Linked DNA regions of Homo sapiens: region 2 is linked to region 1. Evidence: promoter capture Hi-C in 16 types of primary human blood cells and fetal thymus (Javierre and others, 2016). All regions are on one chromosome and are shown on one strand. The core of a region is centred on a gene start or on the middle of the fragment in contact, and the rest is flanking DNA. Distances in the headings are between cores, read along the strand shown.

The links. The method cuts DNA at HindIII sites, captures the fragments that hold promoters and counts their contacts. A CHiCAGO score of 5 or more calls a contact.
Region 2: the fragment with the promoter of MOB4 here is called in contact with the fragment with the promoter of BOLL in region 1 in 4 of 17 cell types (megakaryocytes, erythroblasts, activated CD4 T cells and 1 more); the score reaches 7.6 in megakaryocytes.

The regions. Positions count from the first base shown.
Region 1 is chr2:197,783,847-197,786,944 of GRCh38, forward strand. BOLL (boule RNA binding protein) reads right to left here and starts at 1,473. Exons shown (of 11, transcript NM_033030.6): 1 at 1,210-1,473. RefSeq lists an enhancer at 2,649-2,878. The HindIII fragment of the contact is 5,410 bases long and covers 1-3,098 here.
Region 2 is chr2:197,514,632-197,517,729 of GRCh38, forward strand. It overlaps MOB4 (MOB family member 4, phocein), which reads left to right and starts at 1,435. Exons shown (of 8, transcript NM_015387.5): 1 at 1,435-1,515. The coding sequence starts at 1,456. All of the region lies in intron 2 of HSPE1-MOB4 (HSPE1-MOB4 readthrough), which reads left to right. RefSeq lists a silencer at 1,274-1,493. The HindIII fragment of the contact is 18,120 bases long and covers 1-3,098 here.

The DNA.
Region 1 (3,098 bases), core at 223-2,722:
TTTACAGTGTCAAAATTACCTATTTGCTAAATTTAAAAAATCATTCTTCATGAAATTCTCTTATTGAAAATAAGATGTACTAATATGTTCGCAAGTTTAAGTAAAAGACAAACCCCATTATATTTCATTGAGAGAAGGATGAAATGAACGGAAGTAAACAGTGCTTTATTTCCAATCTCGAGAAACTAAAGGATACTCCCTGAGAAAAGAAAAACAACCTTTCACACTCAATTCACTTCATTCTCCTCCACTCTCTAAGGCTCTATTGTGGGCTCGCTCTGCTTAAGTTTTCTCCCTCATCATTTTCTAACATACGATATAGTTTACTTAGTATGTTTATTATCTGTCTCCACTATTATGTAATGCACCAGGGCAGAAGTTTTGCTTTTTTCATGGCAGCATCTAAAGTACTGACAGTACACAGCAGGTGCTCAATAAATATCTGTTGAATGACTAAAAGTGAATCATTTCTTCAGGAGAGACCTGCTCATGATATGCCAAATAGGCTGAAGGCTAAAGAATACAGTATAACAGCAGTCTAATACATATATATATATATATATATATATATATATATATATATATATATATATATATATATATTTGAGACAGTCTTGCTCTGTCGCCAGGCTGGAGTGCAGTGGCGTGATTTCGGCTCACTGCAACCTCCGCCTCCCTGGTTCAAGAGATTCTCCTGCCTCAGCCTCCTGAGTAGCTGAGACTACAGGTGCGCACCACCACGCCCAGCTAATTTTTTTGTATTAGTAGAGATGGGTTTTCACCATTTTGGCCAGGATGGTCTCGATCTCCTGACCTCGTGATCCGCCCACCTTGGCCTCCCAAAGTGCTGGGATTACAGGCGGGAGCCATCGCGCCAGGCCTACAAAATATTTTAATGTTAGCAATAGCAAGGCTCAGGTGGAGGCAACATCTAAGTTCATTATAAACAATTAGCGATGCATTGAGTTAAACAACAAAGAAAGCCTGAAATTCCACTAGCAATAATTCCGCATGTGTTACGGAAACACCTAGATGGGGACTGTTGCCGGGTTTGAAGGCTCCTCCGTTTGCTAAAACTTCCAGCACTAGAGAGTTTATTAAACTACTCCTCCAAAGCAATGTGCCCTCACTGGCCCCTCCCCTTGAGAATCAACCTCGAGATCTAGCATCTATTTTGCAAACGAAGACAGCAGGAACGGGCGGGCTAACCGTCGCAGTCACTGCCTCGGCGCTCCTCCCCCTCCAAGGCCAGCAAGTTGCGGCACTGGGGGAAATGGCCGCGGCGACAACTTCCTCGAGTTCTCTCGGGTCATCGTGAACTTGGGCACCGAAACGAGGATCCACCCCCTCCCCACCAAAGTGCGGGAGGGAAAAGAAGGCTAGCCAGCGAGAAATTTTGCCCCACAAATCCGCCAGCAGCAGTGGCGGGAAGCCTCAACGGCAGCGACCCCGCCGCTGGCCTCGTGCGCAGCTGGTCCCCACCCTCGCGCGGCGCTCCCTGATTGGCTGCTGGCGGCGGGACGGGGCGGGGCGGGATGGCACGTTGCCGCTGCGCCTCGGGCCTGTGCGGGCAGTCCTCCTTCACTTCCCCAAGTCCACCCTGACTGGCTTGGGTGCACAGCCAGGGCTAGAGTGTCCGGGTCCCGCCTGGGCCACAGGCGGGCCCTGCCAGGTCTCTCAGACCTTCCGGTCCTCGCTGACCAGTCGGGGAGTGGAGGCGTCGACCGCCCTGGCAACTCCTCGCCTTGGGCGGCTGGGTCGAGTTCGGCCGCAGGGAGCGTCAAAGACGCTGCCTAGCCCAATTTCGGCGGGAAAGCGGTTTACCTGCTCGGACTTCGCTGGGTGCCTGGCAGCCCGCCGCCTCCCGAAACATCCACGCCTGAGGTCCCCTGGCCCGTCTACACCCAGTCCAGGCCCCGTGGCGGCGCCTTTCTGACCCCCATGACACAGCCAGACGAGGTCTGCGGGCGGGTGGCTCCTGGCAGCGGTCGATGGGGCACCTGGCCACGTTTCTTCCCAACCAGATAGCGAGCGTTTGGGGCCTTCACCTCGCCCCTCCAAGCCCTCAGGGACAGGCTCCACGCTGCTCCTTCTCCCCGCTATCCCGCGCCCTGGGGCCCTGATCGCCGTACTCACCGGCCCGGACTCGGTTTCCATCTTCCTCTCTGCTCTTCAGAGACGCGGGGTAGGGAAAAGAAGCCTAAAGTTTGAAACCACCTTCACGCCAAGGCAGCAGCGCTGCTTGTCCTGCCTGGGACTCTCGCCCCCTGGCGGCGAGGGTGGCTGTGGCAGCTGCAGGGAAGCAGGCTCGGACCCCGGCCCTGAACCTGCCACCTGGCGGGTGGGGAGAAGCGGACTGCGTCGCCTCGGGTGGCAGGTGGCGGTGCGGGCGGGCGCTGCAAGCCGGAGAGGGGCGCGGGAGGGCGAGTTTCGGCTGTGGCCCTGGGACTCCGAGCCGGGGCGTCTCAGGGGCAGAGCGCACGGCACAGCGGGGCGGGCGTGGGGCGTGCGGAGCGAGGGCTCGGTTCTGGGACCCCTCTCGCCTTCTCTCAGACGGCTGGGGAGGAGAGAGCGAGCGGTCAGGCAAAGCTCCATGCACGCCTTCCCCTCTCCTCCACTTGAGAAGAGTCGGCCTCTGGGACTGGTGGGTTTCGAGAGGTTGAGGTGACCTTAAGGCTTTACTGAGGTAGAAGAAGCCGGTTGACGGGCGACTTCCGAAGACTGGTGTAAAGCGAAGAAGGTTCTAGAGTCAAACTCTGACTCTCGGGGCCTGACTCGCAAAACTCGGGGGCTCCCGAGAAGCCGCGGACGCCGCTCTGCACCTGTTGCCGCCGTCACTCATCCCGCCAGGCGGGCGGGGCCGCGCGGGTGGCTTGGTCAGGACCTGCCATTCAGCCCAGTCGGGCTCCGGTGCTCGCCCCGGACGGCGCCCCAAGCGGGTCCCGGCCCCGCTGAGCACCTCCAGCAGTGGCACAGCCTCTGGAGGGGTCCGGGACGAAGCCACCCGCGCGGTAGGGGGCGACTTAGCGGTTTCAGCCTCCAACAGCCTTGGGATCGCCTTTGGAAGAAGATTGCGCTTTTTTTCTTAAATTAATGAA
Region 2 (3,098 bases), core at 185-2,684, 270 kb before region 1:
AGAAATCTCATTATGTATATGCAAATATTCTAAAATCCAAAATAATCAGAAATCTGAAAGTGTTTTGGTCCCAAACTTTAAGATGAGGGGTACTTAACCTGTATAAGAATTTGTGATTTGCACGTCTCTGTTGCTGGAGTCAAGGCAATTTGTAGTGAAGGACTGAGCCTTATCATACTTGTACATTAGTGCCTACCATATAGTGGGGCTTAATGAGTATCTGTTGAACGAATAATCTTTTCATATGTAGACGCTGGTTCTGGGAGGGCAAAATTAAGTCCCTATTCTTGAAGAGTTACCAGTCAATACATCTTCCAGAGAGAACCAACTTCCTGTTGTTAAACCCTTCAATGCCTAGTTCTAAGTCACTGACAATTACTCAGCTAGAGACCCACTCAACCTCTCCTCTCCTCTCAAATTCCATTTCTGGAAGCTGTTACATGGCCCTTCCCTCAGCATTCTCAATACACCTTCTATCTAGGGACACTTGATGTTTTCTTCTTTTGGAAATCATGCTACTGTATGCGTTTTTTACTTTTTGAACTGTCTTCCCATCTGCTATCCCAAGGCCTCCCTCACCCCAGATAAAAGATTCAAGGTTTCTAAGCAGGAAAAAAAGTTTGCGAAAATGCTGTGGTTTCTTAAGAGAGAACACTTAAAATTTGCAACAAAGGAAATGTGGAATCCTGTAAGATGTAAAACCCTCACCACCTGTCAAGGACTACTAATTTCCTCCTCCTGCTTCTGACTTGAAAAACACGAGCTAAATCTGTCTGCCTAACGCACAAAACCAGATGTCCACTCTTCATCTCACATAATTGACATCTGCGTCTTTTATCTACGTAAACAAACTTGTCATTGAAAAAGTCCTTGGCTTTGAAGTCGCCGGATGGCGTAAATAACACTGACACTCAAATCCCCCGTCTGATTTCAGATTGGGTCGATTTCACGCAGGTTCTATAGAATTTGCCAAGACTGCTGGCCTGTTTTCTACCCTGATTCCTTAGGTGGCTTCTGGGACAGAATTACGGTTCTCTAAGTATTTGCTTGCAGGTGGGTTTACTGAAACGGTCGCCACTATACGAAGTTCGTTCTTCCCGTGTAACTAACGAGAGCCCATACCAACGTGCAACGCAGCCGTGCACACTGCCGCAGCGGTCGCTGCGATCACGACCTTTCAAACCGCCCCGCAGCCCTCGCAAAGAGGCTCGTGGCGCCCGCCTTCCGGTGCCTCAGTCCCTGCCAGTAGCCACCCGACGCCGTCCGGCTGTTCCTCGTTCGCCCTCTCCCTCCGCCTAGCCCGCTTCTACCCGGACGGCTCCCGGCGCAGGCTGCAGCTGTTCCGTCAGCTGCCGCTCCTCCTCCCAGACGCAGAGCGCCGCTCTGCCCCGCCCCCCGCGCAGGCTGCCGTCCCTACATCCGGGTACCGACTCCAGCCGCCTAGACGCTGGCACTATGGTCATGGCGGAGGGGACGGCAGTGCTGAGGCGGAACAGGCCGGGCACCAAGGCGCAGGTACCATGTCTGCACTTTTCTTGTCGGGCAACTAGGTGCCGAGCAGTGCTGCGCCCGGAAGCTGGCCGCCACTGCGGGGAGGTTGGGCCGAGGCGGCAGGCGGGCGGGCTGGGGCACTGGTGCCCGGCCTGCTCTTCCGGAGCTGCAGCCCCTCAATTTGGCTGAGGCGGTGGCGGCCGCCGTGAGGCCTGCGGAGCTCCGACCCAGGGGTAGGCGTGAGGGGCGGGTGGGGTCTGCTGGTGGTACCTGCCTGCCGAAGCCCTGGGCTGCGAGCCTGTCAGCAGCAACGGCTTCTTCTCGCCTTGCCCCTGAGCCCCAGCTGACTAGCATTGGAGGGGCGCGACCAGCCTGGTGGAGACCCCCGGGGTTTCCTGAAGGTCGGGGCCGCTGAGGTGGGAGGGGGTGTAAACACAGCCTACCTCGACCCGGCGTCCAGTTCCTACCTGGCCTGGGAAGTACCTACCCGTTTCCTGCCATCCAGCTTGTCTAGCCGGATCCGGGTGCCGATATTCTCCTCCTTGTTTCCCTTTGACCACCTCTCCCTGCCGCTTTCCCTGGAGCTGTTCTCTGGTCCAGCAAGTTTTCATCACTAAGTTGTGACTTGTTAGATGTCATTCCTTGCTAATATGCGTGAAGCATAGTCAGAGAATGAACTGATTATAATTTTGTCAGCTTTTTTGTAGGGCATTATGTGTGGTAAATTGGTGCTTGATTAGGCATTGTTTCTTAGGGTTTGGAAAAGATGGGATGCCTCACATTAAAAATAAATAAATAAAATTGGCATCCAGACTTGAACTGATTAATTGCTAGCCGAAATGGCTTGCTATAGACTAGATGCTCTGAAATCGGAAGAGATGTGTTTATAAAATGTTAAAAAGTGATGCAAATGAAAATTGAAACAAAACAATCGTGGAGCTATGATTGTATGTCTGAGAATAGATTTTAATTTCTTATACAGAATTATGGAAAGAACACCTTTCGAAGGGGGCATACAGGTATTGATTACCTCCCCAGATTCATGTTACAGATAAGGAAACTGAAGCCCAAGAGAATTAAGTGGATTTGCCCAAGGATACATAGTCTCCTGATTCTTAATTCACTGGTGACCTGTTCTCTTTAACAAGCTGCTTCTAGTGCTGAATTTCAGAGAAAATTTTAAAGTCTTATTTTGGAGTCACATTAAGCTGTCAGTTATTCCTACTGACAGTTTTGTTTTCATACTACTGGAAATTTATCCGTTACATATGCTTGCTTTTTACCGTTTCCACACTTTTCTTCCTCATGCTCTTTTCTCAGATACCTTTACATCTTATTCTGTGGAAACATTGTTTCTGATTACATTTTTATGTTCAGAAGTAGACTTTTCTGTTCATATTCTGAGAGTCATCTCATTTATTCATAAGTTCTTAATTTTGAAAGGTTAGAAAATAAAATATTTAATATCGTAACATACTTGCTATGTTGCTGTAAGTCACATAGAAGAAAACTTATTGTCTTTTTTTTTCACATTGTCATGGATCAAGGTTGTTAGATAAAATATAACAGAAAAAGGATAAAAAATGAAAAAGACTGCTTACGCCGTA